Regions from separate parts of the Homo sapiens genome. Here region 1 is linked to region 2. Evidence: promoter capture Hi-C in human tissues and cell types (Jung and others, 2019). All regions are on one chromosome and are shown on one strand. Each heading gives the region's core, a stretch centred on a gene start or on the middle of the fragment in contact. The rest is flanking DNA. Distances are from core to core; before and after follow the strand shown. Region 1 has its middle 200 kb from the start of KIF2B. Region 2 holds the start of KIF2B (kinesin family member 2B).

Region 1 (5,624 bases), core at 1,025-3,524, 200 kb before region 2:
AGTAAAGAGCTCAATCGAAGTTTGAATTCGGTGGAAGTCTGAATTATTTAAGAGTTAGATTAATCCAAGATATTCCAACAAAATAACATAAAAACAAAAAAAAAATTACAAAAGATTAAAGAAGAGACAGTGAGGTAAATGAAGATCCAATAACCATATAACTGAATGTCAGAAGAAATGAACAAAGAGAATGGACAGGAATAAATAAGTAACAGTATAATTTCCTGCAGATGATAAAAGTATACATTTCTAGGCTGAAAGTGTCAGTGCTAGATAAAATTAATGGCAAAAACCTATACCTAGATACCTTAAAGGGAATATTTAGAACTCCATGGAAATAAGACAACCTCAAAAGGGATATTCTAAATTGCATTCTAAGTAAAATGGAAATTAGACGATAATGAGGACACAAATTTTAATTTTTTAAGCTACGAGAAAAATAATTTGGATATAGAATTGAATAAGTATCCAAGCTAGAAATCAAGTGGAACAGAAAAAAAAAATAATTCTTAGACATAAAAAGCACCAAGAAAGTTAATCTTCATAGACCATTTTTGAAAGACTGATTGAAAGAGGTGTTCTAAAAAAAAAAGAAAGGCATATATATTTTAATTTCTGAAAGTTTTATGCCAGAACTGACTTTGTTTTATTTGTAAATATCTCAGGCTTTTCTTTTGGACACTATCAGTATTTTTCTTTATCCTTGGAATTCAAGAAATTTACCCAGATATGTTTAGGGTTTCTTTTTTTTTTTCTCATTAATTCTGCCTGGAATTTGGTGTGTAGTTTAAATTTGCAGATGTATATATTCTTCAACTGGGGGAAATTTTCTCTTATATTTGTTTAATAATATTATTTTGCTCACATAGTTTTTTTTTCTTCTGCAATACTATCTTTCAATTAGGTTTTCTTCACATGCACCCAATTATCTTATCTTTTTTCAATTATTTCCATTATCTTGCATTTATGCTTCATTCTTTGAGGTATTTCTTCTCGTTTGTCTTCTAGGCTAGTAACTCAGGTTTTACTAGTGAATAGTCTCTCTTTTGTATCATCAACTGTGTTTTGTTATAAATAAATATTCCCAGAAATTGATTTTATTCTCTGATTGAATCTTCATAATTTTCCAAATGGCTCTACTAATTTACATTCCCACCAACAATGTGTTAAGTGTTCCCTTTTCTCTACATCCTCACCAACACTTTTTGTCTTTCATCTTTGTGGTCTTACTTTGTGTTTCTCTGATGATTTGAGATGTTGAACATTATGTATGCAATCTGTTGGTCCTCCTATGTCTTCTTTTGAGAAACACCTATTCAAGTTTTTTGCCCATTTTTAAATACAGTAGTTTTCTTGTTATTGAGCAATTTGAGTTTCTGATATAATTTTTATGTTAGTTCCTTATCCAGTGTATGGTGTGCAATTGTTTTCTCTCATTCTGTAGGTTGTTCTTCACTCTGTTGATTGTTTCTTTTGCTGTGCAGAAGCTTTCTAGTTTGATGTAATCTCATTTGTCTATTTTTGTTTCCGTTGCTGGTGCTTTTGAGGTCGTATCCAAAATTTTTAGCCTAAACCTATATCGACAAGATTTTCTCCTATGTTTTCTTCTAGAAGTTTTATACTTTCAGGTCTTACACTTAAGTCTAATCAATTTTAATTGATTTTTGTATGTGGTGAGATATAATGGTCTAATGTCATTCTTCTGTATGTGGATATCCAGTTTTCCAATATCATTTATTGAAGAAACTGTCTTTTCTCCACTGTATGTTCTTGGTGCCTCTATTGAAAAAAATTGGCTATAAATGGGGAGTATTTCTGGGCTTTTTATTCTCTTCCATTTGTCTATGAGTCTGTTTTTATGCTAGTACTATGTATTTTGGTTACTATAGCTTTGTAGTTTGTCTTCAAATTAGATAGCATGATTCCTCCAACTTTGTTCTTTTTGCTCAAGATTGCTTTTGCTTTTGGGAGTCTTTTATGGTTTGATACAAAATTTAGAATTGCTTTTATATGTTTCTGTGAAGAATGTCATTGGTAGTTCGATGAAGATTGCATTGAATCTGTAGATCACTTTGGGTAGTATTGACATGTTAACTATATTAATTCTTTCCATCCATCAATATGGGATATCTTTTTATTTATTTGTGTCTTTTTTGGTTTCTTGCATCCATGTTTTATAGTTTTCAGTGTAGAGGTCTTTTACCTCTTTGTTTATATTTATTCTTATTTTATTTTTTAAATAACTTTGTAAATAGAGTTGTTTCTTGATTTTTTTTCAGATAGTTTGCTACTAGTGTATAGAAATGTTACTGATTTGCATACACTAATTTTGTATCCTGCAACTGTACTGTTTGTTTATTATTTCTGACAGTTTTTTGGTAGTTTTAAAAAATATATATATGGTTACATCATCATCAAACAGAGACAATTTAACTTCATCCTTTCCCATTTGGATGACTTTTATTTCTTTATTTTGCCTACTTGCTCTGGCTAAGACTTCCAGGGCTTTATTGAATAGAAATAATGAAAGAGATAATCCTTGTCTTTTTTTAGATCTCAGGGAAAAGCTTTCAAGTTTTCTCCATTCAGTATGATATTAGCTGTGGGTTTGTCATATATGACCTTTATTGTGTTAATCTACTTTCTTCTATACCTGATTTGTTGATAGTTTTTAATCATGTTGGAATATTGAGATTTGTCAAGTGATTTTTCTGCATCTACTGAAATACTAATACACGTTTTGTCCTTTCCTCTGTAAAGTGATTTATCACATTTATTGATTTGCATATCTTGAATTCTCCTTGCATTACCACACTCCGTAATTCTACCTCATGGTTTCTAGCAGGCGTGTCCAATTAACATATTTGAAAACACCTTCCAAGATGTTTTCTCCCAATTTTCTCCATTTACTAAGTAGTATCACCATCCACTTAGTTTTTCAGACCAATAATCTAGAAAACATTTAATACCATTTCCCTTCTCACATCCGTAAATAAATCACATTCTGATTTAAACTCTACCTTTAGATTATTTTTCTAATCTGACCAGTTGAAGTGGCATTCTTGTCTGGGGTAAATACCCAGGGTTGGTCATCTTGCTCCACGAAAATTTAGGACAGAAACACACACAAGGAGTTTAGGATGGGAGGTTTAATAGGCAAAAGAAAGAGAAAGAAAAAGAAAGGAAAACAGCTCTCTCTCTAGTGAGAGAGAGGGGCTTCCCAGAGGAAAAGGCTGGCTTGAGGAGGCAGTGTCTGATTTATGTAGGACACACAGATTGGTTCAATCAGGTGTGACGTTGACACAGTCTGGGGAAGGCTGGCCACTCCACCCTAATCTTATTATTCAAATGGGCTTCCAGTTGACCAACACCATCTTGTCCACTCCTTGCTGTACATGTGGCTGGCAAAGGGAAGGGAAGATGGAGCCGCCATTTTGAACATGCCTGGTCACAGGTAGTATTCCTCTTCTGGCAACTATGTCTGCAGCTCAATTTTACAGGCTGCTCTTTGTTAGAAAGGAAAATGATTTTGGGCTGCTTTTTATTAAAAGGAAAATCATTACCGAGGATTTCCGTACCCTCTCTATCTGCCTAAGTAATTTCTTTTTAACTCCTGTATCACAGTTTTCACCCATTTTTCAGGTAACACACTAAGCTAAGCCTTTCTTATCTTTCATCTCGACTAATATAGTAGCCACTTTACTAATCTCTTTGTTTTTACTAACCCCTTAAAAACAGTATTAAACCAAAAATCATATTGATCTTGTAAAACTATAAATAAAATCACATAACTCTCCAGCTCAAAACCCTCTAATGGCTTCATATTACATGTAAATCAGTCCCAAGTATCTTACCACTGACTCTAAGACTGAATGACTTGGCTGTGACCACCTGTCTGACCTTACCTTCTAACCTCCACTGTACTTCCCATTACTCTCTGCTATGTAGTCCTTGCTTTTTCTCTAACTTGCCAAACTCATTCCTCTATGAAAAACAAGTTCCTTGTGATTGTTCTTCTTTTGTCTAGATCAATCATCCCCCAGATTTTTCCAGGGCTGGCCCCCTTTATCTAGGTCTCTATTCAATGTTATGTCTCCAGACATTTCACCAGTCTCTCTTTGCTAAACCAGAAGTCATCCCCTAATCCATTCCCTTACCCCAGAATGTTCCAGTCTATGAGCCATTAATTACCAAGCCTTGATCCCCTGCTCCTTAGAATGGCAAGGCAAGGCCTAGGGCTACTGTACCCTCTTATTCTCCGCCCACCACCAGTTCTCCCTGACCACAAACGGCCTTAGCCTGCTTAACTCAATGTGCTCTTTAAATGTTAAGTATTATTTATTGTTTGTCATTGCATGAATAAGTTTGGAAAGCACACTGTTTTATCTTTCTCTGTTTGTTTCTTATTGTACTCATTAATATAAATGACTTGGCCAAGTAACATTATATCAATTAGTCAAATGAAATTATATTATATATTTATATGCTTACTTGTTATTGTCGGCCTTCCCTAGTAGAATTTGTACACCAAATGACAGGATTTCATTCTGTGTATACCCCTGTAGTTCATATCCCGTGTATACCTGTATACCCCCGTAGTTCAATTGAGAATTTCTTTTTAACTTGGATTTATTGGCGTGATAGTTAATGAGTGTCAACATGATTGATTTAAGGATGCAAAGTATTGTTCCTGGGTGTGTCTGTGAGGTTGTTGCCAAAGGAGATTAAAATTTGAGTCAGTGGACTGGAGAGGCAGACCCACCCTTAATTCAGGCGGGCACCATCTAATCAGCTGCCAACACAGCTAGGATAAAAGCAGGCAGAGGAACATGGAAGGACTAGACTTGCTGAGTCTTCTGGCCTTCATGCTTCTCCTGTGCTAGATGCTTCCTGCCCTCAAACACCAGACTCTAAGCTCTTCAGCTTTTGGACTCTTGGACCTACACCAGTGGTTTGCCAGGTTCTCTCTGGCCTTTGGCCACAGACTGAAGGCTGCATTGTCAGCTTCCCCACTTTTAAGGTTTTAGGACTCGGACTGGCTCCCTTGCTCCTCAGCTTGCAGATGATCTATTGTGGGACTTCACCTTGTGATCCTGTGAATCAATACTCCTTAATAAACTCCCTTTCATATATGCATCTATCCTATTAGTCCTGTCCCTCTGACAAATACAATTGTATTATAATTTAAATATAGTAGAATTCACCACATTTGGTGTAAAGTTCTGTGAGTTTTGGTAAATGCATACAGTAGTGTAACAAATGCCACAGTCAACCTATGAAGGAGATTGTAGTCAGCTCTCTCCAGTTCAAGCATCCAGCAGCAACTAAATTCGTTTCTGTCCCTATAGTTCTGTCTTTTACAAAATATTATGTAAATGGAATCATATCAGATATGTGATTTGCAAATATTCCCTCCTGCCCTGTTTTGTGTTTTAATTCTCTTCACGTCTTTTGAAGAGCAGAAATTTTTAATTTTGAAGAAGTTCAATTTATGATGTATTTCTATTATGAATTACGCTTTTGGTGTTGCAGCTAAGAAATCTAACCAAATGCCACAAAATATTTTTCCTAAATTTTCTTTAGAAGTTTTCACGTCTTCCTCTCTCTGACTCTGACCTTCCTTC
Region 2 (5,460 bases), core at 2,184-4,683:
GGTATCAATGTTTCTGATGCTACTTTTGAGGTATTTATGGGATGTGTCCCATTTTAGGTGGGAGTTTTTCTACTGTTTGTCTTATACCCTGCTCCAACTTGATACAGGAAGGCTTTTTATGTGAAGCATATAAATACAATATATGGTAAAGAGTGTGTGAGGAAAAAAAAATTAAAGACACTATAGTCAACAAAGCCCTACTTAGGCAAAACGTGCACACACACATACACACACCCCTACACACATGCACTTTAATCACTTCTAGGGAGTACAATACTTTGCCATTTCAACTCAAATGTTTCTTTTAAAAAGTCCCTCTCAATTCTAGGCTCTCATACATGGTTTCAAGGAAAATCCAGCCTCCCAATATGATTAGATCTTAAAAACCATTTGAATCTAAACAGCAATGCAAGAGAAAGATTCATGAGCAGTATCATTAGATTTACTCCATTGTGTACCCCTGGTGTCTTTCCAATCTATTTCCTTTAACTCACAGTGTTTTGCTTTCCCAGCTGGAAATTTAGTGTATCTGCTTTCATCACAGCTGGTTTCTTCTACAGCAGGGTTTCTCTACCTCGATACCATTGATGTTTGCAACAGGGTAGTCACTTGCTGTGAGAAGCTGTCCTGTACACTTCAGGGTCCCCAACCCCTGGGCTGCAGACCGGTAGGTCTGTGGTCTTTTGGGAATCACACTACACAACAGAAGGCAAGCTGGCAGTGAGCGGGCATTACCGCCTGAGCTCCCCCTCTTGTCAGATCAGCAGGAGCATTAGATTCTTACAGGAGCATGAACCCTATTGTGAACTGTGCATGTGAGGGATATAGGTTGTTGCATGCTCCTTAGGAGACTAATGCCTGATGATCTGAAGTGGAACAGTTTCATCCCCAACCCCACCCACGGAACAACTCCCTTCCACAAAACCGGTCTGTGGTGTCAAAAAGGTTGGGGACTGCTGCTGTACACTTTAGAATGCTTAGCAGCATTTCTGGTCCTCAAACTACTGTATGCCAGTATCCTCATCACCCCCAGTTGTGACAATCAAAAATGTTTCCAGACATCGCCAAATGTCCTGGTAGGGGGTGGGGAGGAACCATTCCCTGTTGAAAACTATAGTTCAGCAGGATGAAAACAAACTACAGAAATACAGAGGCAGAAGAAAGAGCATGTTTCCCATCAGTGTATTTTAAGATGTTTTAAGCTTCTCAGGAGGATCTTTAGATAATTTGGACAGTTTTCCTGTATAAGAGTGGTGGAAACTGCAGCAATGCAGCATTTCGGACCTGATCTCTCGCCATTGGCTTCACTCTACCTTGCTCTTCACGTGGAGGTCAGCTAGTAATAATTTCAGTTTCTTTTGGATCTCGGTCAGAGCATCAATTTTCTGCTCCAAAATGGACAAAGACCGGGCAATGCAAAAATCAATATCATGGTGTACTCCACCAGCTCTCTCCTGGATGTTTTCCAGCCATTGGCTAGATCCCTTCCCTGAAATTGTGGTATCCTTCCCTAACAGAGTGGGTAATGTTTCAACCTCTTCAATCTCTTTCTGCTCCTCACTCTGTACATAAGGTATTTTAATAAATTCATCCCTCTGAAGGGACATTTCTGAATTTCCGATGTGACTTTTTAACATCCTTGGTGCCTCATGTCCAATCGGATAGTGGCCACGATGGTAGGGCCTTACATCTACATTTAATTTTTTTACTCTGTTTGCATATCTTAAAGTGTTGAGAGTGTTTTCACAAGAGGTCATCCCCGGAGAGATGGTAGCAATCATGCAAGTGGAGGAGTTCTGGCCTATAAAGGAGTCCCGGAGCACCAGTGTGAGTTTGCTGGCTCTGAATGGGGTGTGAGGCTTGTTCTGACCCAAAGCCAGAATACATTCTTTGAGGGCTAGAAGACTCTTGTTAATCTCTGCCCCTTCCAGCTGCCTTTTCCGGCTGGCCTTGGTTGTATCTGCTCCTCTTTCATTCCCAGCTAAATCAACGAGGGAAAACTTGCCATGCATTATCCGTCCTGACTTCAGGATGATCTGGAACACTGCATGGCTCCTGGATGAGTGAGCGTTGACAGGTGTTTGCCTGGAAGTCCGACAGCTATTCCCTATTTCCACCAGGTTCAGCACTTCCTCCACACAACACACCTCTTTCTCCTGCAGCCCGACCACTTGGATTTGCTGATTGCCATCCTCAAGGACTTGCAGCTTCTTCTTCCAGTTCAACAAATCATACACCTTGCCCCCATAAATCTCAAAAAATGTCCCATAGACTTTGAGGTCCAGCTTCTCATATGTGGAGTTTCTGAGCAGGAGAAAGACATCCTGTGCCACCAGAGCATAAATGCCCTTAGAACAATCTTGGGCCGTTCCTGAAAAGTCTCCACCCATGGTGTACGTCTTCCCACTTCCCGTCTGCCCATAGGCAAAGCAGGTGGCCATGCCCTTGCGGAAGATGGACTCCACCAGTGGCTGGGCGGTGAACTGGTACACCAACTCGTTGGAGGCTTTGTCATCGAAGGCATGGTCGAAGCAGAAGGTCTGGTTCTGCAGGTAGCGAGTGAGGTCCACCTTTTGCTTGGACTCATGCACCATAACCACATTGTCCGAGGGGACGGTGATGATATCCAGGTCCTTTAAGGTTGTCTCTCGCTGGTTGAGAGGCCGCTTCCTCACGCAGACGCAGATGCGATGTTCTTGCGGGGGCTCCAGGACTGAGATCTTGCTGCTGTCCAGGTGCCTGCGATACTCTTCGATCATGTGCATGATTTCGTAGTTGGGGTTTCTGGTATTGACATCGAGGGCGCGTCTAGCTCGGATCTCCTGCTGCAGCCGCCTGCGCTTTTCCCGCTGCTCCTGCAGTTTCTGGATTTCCCAGAGGCAGGGAGACTTTTTCTGCTTCATCAGACAAGGTTTGCTGGGGACCCTCACATCCAGGCTGTCCCCTGAGGCTGTTTGGTTTTTCTGGGGGATCATCGCAACCCATTTCGTGGCGGTACGCTGGTCCCTGATGGCCGAAGAGGGCGCCAGAGCCAAGGGGGATAAGGGCGGGGGCGGCATGGGGTGTTCAGCAGAGTCCAGAGCTGGATTCAGCAGGAGTATGGTCTCCAGGTCAATCTTCTTGCCTTTTTTGACTGCTTTCTCCACCCACTCTACCGTGACCCAATAGTTTTCTCTGTTGATCTCCGTGACCACAGCGAGGTGGATCCGCTTGTCACTGCGCTGGATCGCCACGTAGATGCCCTCTTGGATGTCTCCGAAATGTGGCTTCAAGGGTTTCAGGGGCGAGAGACATGGGGATTCAGGGAGGCAGAACTGGCTGGCCATGGTGAGTGATGGAGGTATCAGGGAGCGCTCCAGGGCCCTTGGGGTTGGAGCAGCAGGACCCAAGCCAGCCTGAAGCGCCCGGAGCACTGAGCAGGGTTGCAGTCTGTGCCTGCCTTTGTGAGCCTAGCGCGCCGGGGCCCGGACTGGGGCCACTACGTCACAAAGGGATGAGATGAGGCGGCAGAACCTAGGGCTTAGGAGTGAATGGTACGGGAGCACAAAGGGATGGAGAGATTGTTCTCTGCCAGTGAGGGTGAAGGGGTTGGAGGAGGATGTGGCGTGCTCTCCGGATCATGGCGAGAAAGAACAGGTAACAGAGAAGCAACGGGAACCATGGCGTTGAAATTTAATTTATATGTCCCGTGTACATTTATGCCTAAGCATAAAAGGAGGCCTTGGCTGGCAGTCTCAAAGCTCAGTGCTTTAATTTGAGAATTGCTATGAAGTTTCCTTAAACTTTAACTCTCCAGTGATCAGTGGGAATAGATGAAGGTAGAGCTATTTGCAAATCTCAGGACTCGATATTCAACAGGATCCCAGAAAGGCTCCTCAAACCCGCCATCTTTGTTTTTTCACCTCCTTCAAAACGTGTAACTTGTTTAAGAGTCACAACTTAAAGTTATTACAGTTTAATCGGCTTTCTCATTACAAAATCAAAATGAGTAGAATGTAGCAGGTCGTTGTGGTAATTTGCTAATATGAAACTACCTTTCGTACAGCACCTGGGTTTGCAAACACAACATGTGTATCACATTCCAAGTGGCTCTGACAGCTATAAAGTGAGTTTTGTTGTGCTGTGGTCACCACCATTTTTGAGATTAGTTCAGTAATTACCTTTCCAAACTCCTTCAGTAATTACACTTCTGGCCTCATTATCCATAATTGGGAGAGAAAGAAAAGGCATTGTGTGGAAAGAGATAATTAATCTTATACTCCCCCCACCCCTGCAGTACTTGTGTGTGTCCTTTAGAAGTTGTTAAGCAAGGCTGGAAGGCAGCTAAGACCATCGGATGCAAAAATATATTTTGCCAAGATTGCAATATTTTCATGCATAAGAATTAGCTTATAAAATAAATGACATTGACTTTTAGACAGGCCAAGCTCAGAGTAAGGGTGATGCCTTACGTTCAGCTCACTAGCAACACCCGTGCATGTTGTCTTTTGGACTGTTGAATTTTATCATAATTATAGCTCCAAAGTAACATGAAGTAGCAAGTTACAACCTTCCCTAGGAATAAGGGCCTCTATAGAAATAAATTCTACTATAAACTAACTTTTCTGTTCAGTCAGTCTAGTAAAGCTTAGATTTTGAAAAGAAGGTGGAAGGAGGATACTGGATAAATTAGATAAGTAAGCAGTGCTCATTTCAAGAGGAGGTTGTATGCAGGTGGAGGGAGAGGAGAAAGGGCTTTAGGCAATTGTCTTCTAAAAAATATCATGTTTTATTTCCCCAAATTATCAATACTTAAAGTTGTGCTTTAAATCAGTTGTTCTTTCTTGGTTTCAAGGCCATGATGTAGATATTCTTAATACACTGTATTTGTCATTAGCACTCTGTCATTCAAGTTGGAGTACAGTGGCCTGATCATAGCTCACTGCCACCTCATACTCCTAGGTTAAAGCCATCCTACCATCTCAGCTTCCTGAGTAGCTGGAATTACAGGCATGTGTCAGGATGCTTTGCTATTTTCTTTCTTTGTTTCTTTCTTTTTTTTTTTTTTCTTTTTTTTTTTTTTGCTAGGGATGAGGTCTCGCTGTGTTGCACAGAGACTGGTCTCAAACTCCTGACCTCAAGGGAGTCTCCCTTCTCACCCTCCCAAAGTGATAGAAATATAGGCTTGAGCCACTGAGCCCACATAATAGTTTGTTTTGCTTTGTTTTTTTAACCGTTACCTTTGAAAAAGCTGGGTCTCTCTCAAAATTATGAAAACTCTAGACCCTCCAGGCTAGCCATAGGGTTTTCATCTTAGCTAGTAATGTTTTAGACAGACAATGGATGAGCAGATCCATGATAATAGTGCCAAAATCAGAGAGAAAAGTTTCCTTTTACTCCCTCTTTCTCTCCAACATGTTCATACAGGTTTTCATAGCAATTTCAGGACTTTTTTTCAGTTCTTTTCTCTTTTATATAGTT

The links. The method cuts DNA at HindIII sites, captures the fragments that hold promoters and counts their contacts. A contact is called where the count stands out against the background at its distance.
Region 1: a fragment that was not itself captured here is called in contact with the fragment with the promoter of KIF2B in region 2 in 1 of the 25 tissues and cell types used here (dorsolateral prefrontal cortex).

The regions. Positions count from the first base shown.
Region 1 is chr17:54,015,237-54,020,860 of GRCh38, reverse strand. No RefSeq gene overlaps it. Among named protein-coding and RNA genes, the nearest start is that of KIF2B, 200 kb to the right of the region's middle. The HindIII fragment of the contact is 4,329 bases long and covers 110-4,438 here.
Region 2 is chr17:53,820,900-53,826,359 of GRCh38, reverse strand. It overlaps KIF2B (kinesin family member 2B), which reads right to left and starts at 3,433. Exons shown (of 1, transcript NM_032559.5): 1 at 1,167-3,433. The coding sequence starts at 3,326. The coding sequence ends at 1,305. It overlaps LOC124904030 (a long non-coding RNA gene), which reads left to right and starts at 3,434. Exons shown (of 2, transcript XR_007065851.1): 1 at 3,434-3,636. The HindIII fragment of the contact is 8,156 bases long and covers 1-5,460 here.